4 separate regions of the Homo sapiens genome follow, and regions 2, 3 and 4 are each linked to region 1. Evidence: promoter capture Hi-C in human tissues and cell types (Jung and others, 2019). All regions are on one chromosome and are shown on one strand. The core of a region is centred on a gene start or on the middle of the fragment in contact, and the rest is flanking DNA. Distances in the headings are between cores, read along the strand shown. Region 1 holds the start of DHDH (dihydrodiol dehydrogenase). Region 2 holds the start of FUT2 (fucosyltransferase 2 (H blood group)). Region 3 has its middle 12 kb from the start of FGF21. Region 4 overlaps BCAT2 (branched chain amino acid transaminase 2).

What was found. Contacts are between HindIII fragments. The study calls those that stand out against the background at their distance.
Region 2: a contact is called between the fragment with the promoter of FUT2 here and the fragment with the promoter of DHDH in region 1, in 1 of the 25 tissues and cell types used here (dorsolateral prefrontal cortex).
Region 3: a fragment that was not itself captured here is called in contact with the fragment with the promoter of DHDH in region 1 in 3 of the 25 tissues and cell types used here (adrenal gland, dorsolateral prefrontal cortex and spleen).
Region 4: a fragment that was not itself captured here is called in contact with the fragment with the promoter of DHDH in region 1 in 1 of the 25 tissues and cell types used here (spleen).

The regions. Positions count from the first base shown.
Region 1 is chr19:48,932,122-48,934,948 of GRCh38, reverse strand. It overlaps DHDH (dihydrodiol dehydrogenase), which reads right to left and starts at 1,250. Exons shown (of 7, transcript NM_014475.4): 1 at 1,138-1,250. The coding sequence starts at 1,227. RefSeq lists an enhancer at 1,176-1,677. The HindIII fragment of the contact is 30,682 bases long and covers 1-2,827 here.
Region 2 is chr19:48,694,539-48,697,365 of GRCh38, reverse strand. FUT2 (fucosyltransferase 2 (H blood group)) reads right to left here and starts at 1,395. Exons shown (of 2, transcript NM_000511.6): 1 at 1,277-1,395. RefSeq lists enhancers at 433-996, 1,561-2,124. The HindIII fragment of the contact is 31,324 bases long and covers 1-2,827 here.
Region 3 is chr19:48,766,522-48,769,348 of GRCh38, reverse strand. No RefSeq gene overlaps it. Among named protein-coding and RNA genes, the nearest start is that of FGF21, 12 kb to the right of the region's middle. The HindIII fragment of the contact is 4,374 bases long and covers 1-2,827 here.
Region 4 is chr19:48,794,731-48,797,557 of GRCh38, reverse strand. It overlaps BCAT2 (branched chain amino acid transaminase 2), which reads left to right. Exons shown (of 11, transcript NM_001190.4): 7 at 225-367; 8 at 536-621; 9 at 840-980; 10 at 1,056-1,130; 11 at 2,094-2,494. The coding sequence ends at 2,132. Among named protein-coding and RNA genes, the nearest start is that of BCAT2, 15 kb to the left of the region's middle. RefSeq lists enhancers at 803-1,438, 2,036-2,215, 2,256-2,325. The HindIII fragment of the contact is 3,051 bases long and covers 1-2,827 here.

The DNA.
Region 1 (2,827 bases), core at 1-2,500:
GGGTGGAAGGGAGGCAAAGGAGGAGGCTCTGGCCAGGGGAAGGGGAGACGTGGTCCTGGGGGAAGAGATGACGGGGGCTGGACATTTGGGCCCTGGGAAAGAGAGATCTGGGGGAAAGCCGTTATTAAATCCCCCAATATTGAAATTATCTTCATAGTAGCTTACATCAAGGCCTTTCCAAACCTCAAGACACTCAGGTTTGTGTGGGGAAAAGAAAGAGAGATCAGATTGTTACTGTGTCTATGTAGAAAAGGAATCTGTATCATGAATAAGTTCAAGGAAAGGTGCTGTGACCGGATGTGCACGTAGGCTAGATTTATGTTTCACTTTACACAAACATCTCAGTGTAGCAAAGAGTAACAGAGCAGTATCACTGCCAGCATATCTCGCCTCCAGCCACAGGTAGGTTTTCTCCTATCTCAGAATAGAAGGAATGGGAATGGTCCGCTTTACACTGAGACAGTCCATTCCCAGGGAGAGCAGGAGACAGAAGCCTTCCTCTTATCTCAACTGCAGAGAGGCCTCCCTCTTTCACTACTCCTCCTCAGCACAGACCCTTTACTGGTGTCGGGCTAGGGGATGTAAGGTCTTCCTTTCCCACGAGGCCATATCTCAGGCTTTCTCAGTGGGGGGAAACCCTGGACAATACCCAGGCTTTCTTGGGCAGAGGTCCCTGCGGCTTTCCGCAGTGCAATGTGCCCCTGGTTAATAGAGAATGGAGAATGGCGATGACTTTTACCAAGCATACTGCCTGCAAACATATTGTTAACAAGGCACATCCTGCAAAGCCCTAAATCCATTAAACTTTGATTCAATACAGGACATGTTTCTGTGAGCACACGGTTGGGGCTAAAGTTACAGGTTAATAGCATCTCAAAGCAGAAACAATTTTTCTTAGTACAGTTCAAAATGGAGTTTCTTATGTCTTCATTTTCTACGTAGACACAGTAACAATCTGATCTTTCTTTTCCCCACAGGTTTGCAGAACAGAGATGGAGAAGGAGGTAGCAAGGAAACAGACGTTTCACTGCAATGACGACCCACTCACTAGTCCTGAACCCTAAACTCCCTCCTCCTTTAGACTCTGGAGTCCCGCCCCCCGCCTCCTCTTCCCCAGAATCCGGAGGGCGGGCAGACCTGGTGCTCAGAGCGAGGCAGCGTCTGCAGCACGGCTGTGAAGTCGCTGGAGATGAGGCCGACAGACACGATGCCCCAGCGCAGCGCCATGGTTGCGATGCGGAGCCCTCGGCACCTTCGGTCCCTCCAGGCGCGAATTAAGTACCTGACGCCCCGCCCACCCCGGGGGCGGGTCCCCATCCTCCGCCCGTATTGCGCCTACGCCGATTCTCGTTGGCTCCAGTCGGCAGAGCGGTCATTTAGTTCTAGCTTCCCCGCTGGGCGAATGCACCGTTTAGCTCCGCCTTACAGAGGGAACCACACCTTGACGTCGCTTCTACAGATCTCTTACCTATGACTTTAGGCTCGTCGGATACGCGGGGTAAGGACAGCGTGGGGAGGAGAGGTTTGCTTTCTTGCCAACACCAATCCTTGAGAGTTAGATTTAATGTCTTGCCCTCTGGACTTTGTGGCAAAACTTTGCCCTGACTTTTTTGCTCTCAAAGCCACGCATCATTAGGGGTTGTTCACAGAGAGAGAGAGGATTGTAACAGCAAACTTAATAATTATTACTAATATGTATAGAGCACCTGTAGACCAGCTCCTCAGCTCTGCGCTTTACCTTCTTCGTTCCTAATTTCTCCCCGCAGACCTGGGAAGTAGCTTCTATTGTCCCCAGTTCACAAAGGGGGAAACAGACTCCAAGATCCCTGGTCATTTTTTGGAGGTCTCACAGTCAGGAGGTAAAGACCTGTGAATTGGCTGCTTCCAGAAGCTATAGTTTTAGAAACCAGGCTGCTTTGCTTGTTAGGAGCCCCAGAGCCTGGCCGACTGGTTTCAAAACCCTCCTTGCCCCTTCTTGGCTGTATTGCTTTTGGACAAGAGGTCGCCCTCTCTGGTCCTCACTTTTCTATTCTGGAAAGCAGAGATCATGATAACATCTACCTACATAGGGTTGTGAGGAGGATTCATTGAGCTCTATGGTCTATTATGTAAAATATACTGTATTATTATAATTATTATTGATATAGGGTCTCGCTCTGTCGCCCAGGAAGGAGTGCAGTGGCACAATCATAGCTCACTGCAGCCTCAAATTCCTTAGCTCAAGGAATTAGCTCCTGCCTTAGCCACCCTAGTACCTGGGACTACAGTAGCTGGGACCCAAAGTAGCTACTGGCTACTACACCTGGCTAATTATTTTGTTTTATTTATTAATTATTTTAGAGATAGGGTCTCACTCTGTTACCTAGCTGGACTGCAGTGGCGTGATAATAGCTCACAGCAGCCTTGTACTCCTGGGCTCAAGCTATCTTCCCGCCTCAGCCTCCTGAGTAGCTGGGAGTATAGGCATGTGCCCCACTTACCGCTATTTGTTTGTTTGTTTGTTTGAGACGGAGTCTCACTCTATCCCCAGGCTGGAGTGCAGTGGTGTGATCTCAGCTCACTGCAACCTCCGCCTCCCTGGTTCAAGTGATTCTCCTGCCTCAGCCTCCTGAGTAGCTGGGACCACAGGCGCCCTCCACCATGCCCAGCTAATTTTTTTTATTTTTAGTGGAGACAGGGTTTCACCATGTTGGCCAGGATGGTCTCGATCTCCTGACCTTGCGATTTGCCTGCCTTGGCCTCCCAAAGTGCTGGGATTACAAGCATGAGCCACTGCACCCAGCCTGCTAATTTTTGTTGCTGTTGTTGTTTGTTTTTTGTTTTTGAG
Region 2 (2,827 bases), core at 146-2,645, 240 kb after region 1:
TTTTTTTTTTTTTTTTTTTTGAGACGGAGTTTTGCTCTTGTTCCCCAGGCTGGAGTGCAATGGCACAATCTCGGCTCACCACAACCTCCGCCTCCCGGGTTCAAACGATTCTCCTGCCTCAGCCTCCCGAGTAGCTGGGATTACAGGCATGCACCACCACGCCTGGCTAATTTTGTATTTTTAGTAGAGACGGGGTTTCTCCATGTTGGCCAGACTGGTCTCGAACTCCTGACCTCAAGTGATCCGCCTGTCTCGGCCTCCCAAAGTGCTGGGATTACAGGCGTCAGCCACCACGTCCAGCCCCGTCCACGTCTTTCTATTGCGGCCCGGCTTCCTCCTCTCCCCTCTGTCCCCTACACCCAGCGCCGGCCCTGCCCCTTCCCAGCTCGCAGCCCCTTCAGGGCTCCCTATGCCTCTTAAGACACAATCCCAGTCTCTCGCCGGCCCCGCACACCCCTCCGGCTTTGTCACCAGCTGTTCCCGTGAAATAACCCAGCTCTCCGCTCACCCGGGGCCCCGTCCTGTCCCCCAGCTCTGAAAGCCTTTCTCTACCCCAACCGCCCCGTGCCCCGGGCAGCTCAGCACATCCGGCTCAGTCGCACCCCACTGCCTCGAGCTCGCTGTCTTCCTGCACCTCCCCGGGATTCCCGGATTCCCGGCATTATCACTTCCACCCTGGGGAGGAGAAGGGAGCTTCAGACAATAACGTAGGGCCATCACTTGGAAACCCCACCTTTATTCTCCGACCCAGAACAGAAGCGGTGATTCAGAGCGGGATTAGGGAGTGCAGGAGGGACGGAGCCGCCCTCCCTGGGCGACGGCAGGGCTCGGAGGTGAGACCAGCAGTTTGGGTTCCATGAAGCCTCTGAGGAGCCCCAGGGTGGAGGCAGGAAAGTCGGGTCACCACCAGCTGTGCGCGAGCCATCTGCACCATTACTGCCAGGGTGGTTCATAGAAACTGCTGAGGGGAAGGAGACAAGGAAGGACCTGGTGGCCCGGGGTGGAGAAGGGGAGGGAGCTGGTGGTTGGAGCTCTAGAAACAGATCCACCTGGAAGGAAGTGGGGAGGGAGCTAAGGAGGGCGGCTGGCTGGGGAGGGGGGTCCTGGCTGCCGAGGGAGGGACCCTCCTCTCCTGGAGGTCCTGAGTTGGGGGTGCCTCCCAGAGGGCACCAGGGACCCACGAGGGCACACAGGTCCACGTCCCAAATCCCTGCTCTCCGCCTGGGCGTGTGTGCAGAGGTGTGCGTGTTGTAGGGTGGGAGAGGAGCCCCCTCACCTTCTCTCACCTGGTCCTGCTGAAGGAAACCGGGACAGAGTGGTTGGGCAGGCACCTCAGTGTTCCCTCTGGGTCTCTCTTCACTCAGGGCCAAAGAAACCCTTCCAGCATCGGTGACTGGCAAACCCCGCCCAGGAGCTACAGGGCTTTCCAGAGCAGGTGTGGCTGGGCTGCGGGAGGGAGGTGAGCCCGTAGCCCCTCCTCCCTCCCCATTGCCGGCCACAAAGTCCATCTTGTTATCTACCCTTAGCTCCTCCACCTGCACCAGGCACCCCAAGCCTGGCCATAAGGGTGGGGGAGAGAGGCAGGACAAGGTCGCATCCCCCATCCGGGTCCCCGAGGGTCTTCCTTGGGGAACTGTTGTGATGCCCCAACAGAAAGGGGCCCCCACTCTGCTCCGCTCCTCCAGGCAGCCAGGAAGGCCTCCAGGAAGGCAGCATGGAGGCGGGGGACAGAGTCCTGCTAGGCCAGGCTCTCGCTGACTCTGAGTCCCCTCAGAGTCTTATATTTATTTATTAATTAATTATTAGTAGTATTACTTTTTGAGAGAGTTTTGCTCTTGTTGCCCAGGCTGGAGTGCAATGGCGTGATCTCAGCTCACTGCAACCGCCGCCTCACAAGTTCAAGGGATTCTCCTGCCTCAGCTTCCCAAAGTGCTGGGATTACAGACGTGAGCCACCTCGCCCTGCCTATTTCAAAAAAATTTTTAAATACAAATGGGCCCGGTGTGGTGACTCACACCTGTAATTCTAGCACTTTGGGAGGCCGAGGCAGGCGGATCAACTGAGGTCAGGAGTCAGAGACCAGCCTGGCCAACAAGGTGAAACCCCGTCCTTATAAGAATACAGAAATTAGCCATGGCCCAGCACAGTGGCTCATGCCTGTAATCCCAGCACTTTGGGAGGCCGAGGCAGGTGGATCACCTGAGGTCAGGAGTTTGAGACCAGTCTGGCCAACATGGTGAAACCCTGTCTCTACTAAAAATGCAAAAATCAGTGGGGCGTGGTGGCATGCACCTGTAATCCCAGCTACTTGGGAGGCTGAGGCAGGAGAATCGCTTGAACTTGGGAGGCGGAGGTTGCAGTAAACTGAGATTACACCATTGCACTCCAGCCTGGGAAACAAGAGCAAAACTCTGTCTCAAAAAAAAAAAAGATGGATGAGGAATTTTACTGAGAGAAGAGGCAGGCACCACCAGAGCTCCCAGCAGTCCTAACAGGAGGAAAGAGAAACCAGCAGCCACTCCCCAGCTTCAGCTAAGCAGCAGGAGGCTACCTACCAGCTACGGAGCTCCCTTCAAACAAACAAACAAAAAAATCAGATCAAGCTTCCCACTCTAACCACCAGTTTGCAGAAAACAGGAGGACAAAGTTCCCAGTGAAACGACACCATGAGGCAGCAATCAGCCCAGTCCAGAATGTGAGCCCGTCCACAGGACAAACGACCTGTTTCCCTGTGATTCAGCGACAAGGAAAAAAGAAACAGGGTGGGGCGGGGAAGTGGGGAGGTGAGCTGTCATAAAATATGCAAAACAGGCCAGGTGTGGTGGCT
Region 3 (2,827 bases), core at 88-2,587, 170 kb after region 1:
AGTCATTCAAGGAGCTCACCACCATGTTTTCAACAAATGGGGCTGGAAAAAGTGGCCAGGAGCTGAAGGGAGGAGAATTGGGGAAGTGGGATTTAATTGCGGCAGAGAGTTTCAATTTTATCAGATGAAAAAATTCTGAAGATTGGTTGTGCAACAATGTGAATATACTTAACGCGACTTAACTGTACACTTAGAAATGATTCAGGTGCCGTGGGGTTATGATACAGATTGGTTTTCGGCCAGGTGCAATGGCTTACGCTTGTAATCCAACACTTTGGGTGGCCGAGGCGGGCAGATCACTTGAGGTCAGGAGTTCTGAGAGCCGCCTGGCCAACATGGTGAAACCCTGTCTCTACTAAAAATACAAAAATTAGCCGGGCATGGTAGCGCAAACCTGAAGTCCCAGCTACTTGGGAGGCTGAAGCACGAGAATCTCTTGAACCCGGGAGGCGGAGGTTCCAGTGAGCCCACTGCACTCCAGCCCGGGCAACAGAGCGAGATTCTTTCTCTCAAAAAAAAACAAAAAAAAAAAACAAAAAAAACAAAAACAAAAACAAAAAACCTCCAAAAAATTAGCCAGGTGGAGGCACCTGTAATCTGAGCCACTTAGGAGGCTGAGGCAGGAGAATTGCTTGAACCTGGGAGGCAGAGGTTGCAGAGAGCTGAGATTGTGCCACTGCACTCCAGCCTGGGCGACAGTGACCCTGTCCCCCTCCACCCCTCCGAAAAAAAAAGAAAAGAAAACAAGAACAGTAGTCAAATCTCTAGGGGCTCCAGTGAGTAGGTGAGGATAGGGTGTGGTGGAGAAGCTGAAAGATGCTAAATAGCCTGGCTCCCCAGGGATCTGGGAAGTGCTCACTCAGTAGAACCTCCCTCTTGGAAGGACGAAGCTCCACACTGGTGAAAACTAATAGAGAAACAAAACCCAAACTGATCTTGGCAGGCGCTCAGAGAGTAAAGCAGAGGGAAGGTTCTGATAATGGTGGGGGCAAGAACCAAGGAGATAGAGTTTGCTCCTGAACGTTGGAGAGGTGGCTGTGCTGAGTGGTTATATATTGCATACAATACTGTGGGGAAACAGCAAAGAGTCAGCCTATTTATTTATTTGTTATTTATATATTTAATTTTTTGAGACAGGGGCTCGCTCTGTCACCCAGGCTGGAGTGCAGTGGTGTGATCTTGGCTCACTGCAACCTCCGCCTCCTGGGTTCAAGCGATTCTCCTGCCTCAGCCTCCCGAGTAGCTGGGATTACAGGTGCCCACCACCATGCCCAGATAGTTTTTTTGTTTTGTTTTGAGATGGAGTCTTGCTCTGTTGCCCAGGTTGGAGTGCAGTGGCGTGATCTCAGCTCACTGCAGCCTCTGCCTCCTGGGTTCAAGAGATTCCTGTGCCTCAGCACTTTGGGAGGCCGAGGCAGGCGGATCATGAAGTCAGGAGAACGAGACCATCCTGGCTAACATGATGAAACCCCGTCTCTACTAAAAATACAAAAACAAAATTAGCTGGGCGTGGTGGTGGGTGACTGTAGTCCCAGCTACCCGGGAGGCTGAGGCAGAAGAATGGCGTGAACGCGGGAAGTGGAGCTTGCAGTGAGCCGAGATCGCTCCACTGCACTCCAGCCTGGGCGACAGAGCGAGACTCCATCTCAAAAAAAATAAAAAATAAAAAATAAATAAGAGATTCCTGTGCCTCAACCTCCCAAGTAACTGGGACCGCAGGTGTGCACCACCACGCCCAGCTAATGTTTGTAATTTTAGTAGAGACAGGGTTTCACCTTGTTGGGCAGACTGGTCTGGAACTCCTGACCTCAGGGGATTCGCTCACCTTGGCCTCCCAAAGTGCTGGGATTACAGGCGTGAGCCACTGTGACCGGCAAAACTTTTAAGATTTTTAAGGCTCAGAAAGCTATCCTGGCCCACCCTAATGTCAACTGTGCAACTTCCTCCTAAGGGTACGGCTCACTTAAATGAGAGAAAAAGAAGAGGAGTGTGAGGCCAGGTGCGGTGGCTTACGCCTGTAATCCCAGCACTGTGGGAGGCCAAGGCAGGCGTATCACCTGAGGTCAGGAGTTCGAGACCAGCCTGACCAACATGGAGAAACCCTGTCTCTACTAAAAATACAAAATTAGCCAGATGTGGTGGCACATGCCTGTAATCCCAGCTACTTGGGAGGCTGAGGCAGGAGAATTGCTTGAACCCGAGAGGCAGAGGTTGCAGTGAGCCGAAATCATGCCATTGCACTCCAGCCTGGGCAACAAGAGAGAAACTGTCTTAAAAAAAAAAAAAAAAAGAAGAAGAAGAGGAGTGTGACTAACTCCGTGTAGAGGTGTGCATTGGGGAAATAGCGTCCTGGAAGCTTCATGTCTACCTGGTACCGCTGAATGTGTCCTTACTTGGAAATACGGCCTTTGTAGATGAAATCAAGTTCAGGTGAGGTTATACCGGGTTGGGGTGTGCGCTAAGTCCTATATGATTGGTGTCCTTATAGGAAGAGGGAAATTAAGACAAAGAGCCAAGCGTGGTAGCTCACACCTATAACCCCAGCACTTTGAGAGGCCGAGGTGGGAGGATTGCTTGAGCCCAGGAGTTCAAGACCAGCCTGGCCAACATGACCCTGTCTGTACCAAAGTAAAAGTTAAAAGAACTAGCCAGGGCCAGGTGCAGTGGCTCACGCTTGTAATCCCAGCACTTTGGGAGGCCAAGGCAGGCAGTTCACTTGAGGTCAGGAGTTGGAGAGCAGCCTGGCCAACATGGCGAAACCCTGTCTCTACTAAAAATGCAAAAATTAGCTGGGCATGGTGGCGCAAACCTGAAGTCCCAGCTACTT
Region 4 (2,827 bases), core at 175-2,674, 140 kb after region 1:
AAAAGAAAAGAAAGAAAAGTGGGAAGAGACAGGAGAGAGGGGACATAACCATTTAGGGTCCTGATGCCAAATGAAAAGTCAAGGATTCCATCTCAGGGGAACTGGGGAGCCCTGTGAGAGCTGTGAGCAGGGAGACGGGAGAGAGTAGGATGAGCCTCCTCTGGGGCTGGGCTGGGGAAGGATGGGGCTCCCTTGCCCCACCCAACCAGACTGCCCTCCACCAGGAATTATGGGCCCACCGTGTTAGTGCAACAGGAGGCACTCAAGCGGGGCTGTGAACAGGTCCTCTGGCTGTATGGGCCCGACCACCAGCTCACCGAGGTGGGAACCATGAACATCTTTGTCTACTGGACCCACGAAGATGGGGGTAAGCCCACCCATGACCCAGCCCGAACCCTGGTGGAAGTGGGTGGCACCATCATTCCTGGCAGGTTACAGGCCCCAGGGATTCTGGGATGGGGGAAGGGGGTGGCTCTTAAGACGGCGGTGCTAGGGGGTGAGAGGTAACATCTTCCACCCCTTACACCTGCCCTAGTGCTGGAGCTGGTGACGCCCCCGCTGAATGGTGTTATCCTGCCTGGAGTGGTCAGACAGAGTCTACTGGACATGGCTCAGACCTGGGTGAGGACATGGCATCTTCTGGTGATGGGCGCCATGTGCCAGGGGCCAGGGCATCAGAGGGCTGGGACTGGGGCACACTGGCATGTCTCTGCCCCTTCTCCTGGGTCTGTCTCTCCCGTTGGGCCTCTGTCTTTCTCACTATCCTCAGGGAGGGAGAGGTGGAGGTCTGCAGCAGGGCAACCCTCTGGGGACACGTGTCTCTGCCAACTGCCCTGCAGGGTGAGTTCCGGGTGGTGGAGCGCACGATCACCATGAAGCAGTTGCTGCGGGCCCTGGAGGAGGGCCGCGTGCGGGAAGTCTTTGGCTCGGGCACCGCTTGCCAGGTCTGCCCAGTGCACCGAATCCTGTACAAAGACAGGGTGAGGCGGGGCTGCCATTGTGGGTGGGAGGGAAGGAGGGGAGGGGCTTGGTCCTCACCGCACCTTCTGTCCCAGAACCTCCACATTCCCACCATGGAAAATGGGCCTGAGCTGATCCTCCGCTTCCAGAAGGAGCTGAAGGAGATCCAGGTGAGCTGCAGGGAGCTGGGGAATGGGCTGGGAGCTTGTTCCCTGGAGAAGTTGGTGTCCCATGAGCCCCTGGACTAACAGCCAGCCTCCTTCAGTAGTACCAGGAACAGATAATGGCCTTTCTTATTGAGGCCCTGGAGAGTGGGCTTTCTGTGCTGCTCTGTGGCCTGGAAAACCCCTTGGGGCTAAATCACCCTTTCCTGGGAGCTCCCGGAGCCCTGGATATGTCTTCAGCTTTGGAAACCCCTTCCTGTGATCCTCTGCGGCTCCTGGGTGCCCTGGTAGGAGAAACCCCCTCTCCGTGGGCCTCTGAGGCCCCTGGGTGCCCTGGTGGGAGAAACTCCCTCCCTGTGATCCTCTGCTGCCCCGGGTGCCCTGGTGGGAGAAAGGCCCTTTCCATGAATCACTGAGACCTTAGCCAGCCCTCTGGCCATCTCAGAGGTTGGCCTCCCAAGATTCCCTGGAGCCCTGGGCTATCCCTTTGGCCGGAGAAAGCTTCCTCCCATGAGCCTCTGGACCTTGGCCCCTCTCTGGCACCAGACTGTTTAATCCCATAAATCTCTGGGGGTATTCCCATCTTCTGGGCCAAGATCTCTTTCCCAAGAATCTCTGGGCTCCTTTCCCAGACCTAGAGCTACATTTCTGTAAACTTTTGTGCATCAGGACCTAGAACTACACATCCTCTGACTATCTGGGCTTTCTGAGCTGAAAGTGACTTTTTCCAAGAGCCTTAGAGGCCTGGCCATAATTCCTGTCTTCAGAACTACATCTCCCGGAAGCCTCTGCGCCGCCTTAGCCTTGATTCCCCGTTCCCATCATTGTTGGGGCCCTCTGGGAAGTGGACTACATTTCCCGTGAGCCGCTGGGGCACAGCTCCGTAGGCACTCGGCCTGGAACACCCCAGGGCCTACTGGGAGTTGTAGTGCAGCTTCCACCTCACGCACTGCCTCCGTTGTTCCGCAGTACGGAATCAGAGCCCACGAGTGGATGTTCCCGGTGTGAAGCTGCAGGCTGTGCTCCAGATCCACCGACCCGTAGCATCTCGTCACGCCAGCACTCGCCTCCCTACCAATGACTCACCTGAAGTGCAATACGAAATAAAAGGCCAGCGGGCGGCGTCTGGGTCTCTGGCGCCCCCATGTGGTTGCGACACTCCCAAAGCCGTAAGGGCCGACCCAGGCATCTTGGCCCCCAGCCCCTCGTCGCGGGTTCAGGTCCGCCCATTACTCCTTGTCGTGCGGTCAAGGATACACCTTGGCCCCGATTCCGGATCTCTCCGTTCTCAGGCCAGACCCCTGGTGCTGCCGTTGATTTTTTTTTCTCTGTCTTTGCTGCAATTTTGAAATAAAATGCCAAAGAACACACATTGTCGGGCTTCTTCAGTGACGTGACTCTGGGGCTTTAACCCAGGAATCCTGCTTCCTCAGCCCATTTTATTCTGAAGGACTCAGTCATCCGAGCCCCCAGTGTTCTGATGGTTTCTCCAACCTGGGGGAGCATTTCATGTCTCCGGCACTGAACTTACTATCTGCCCCCCACCAACCAGCTCCTCCCCTACTTTCCCGTCTCCCAGTCTCTAGGCCGGACCCCTAGGTGCTGCATCCTTTTCTCTCAAAGCCCACGAGGCCCCGATCCCTGTTCCTCCTGCCCCCGACTCTGCTGTCCGTTCCCCCGCCTCTTTGTCCCCTAGGCCCTGG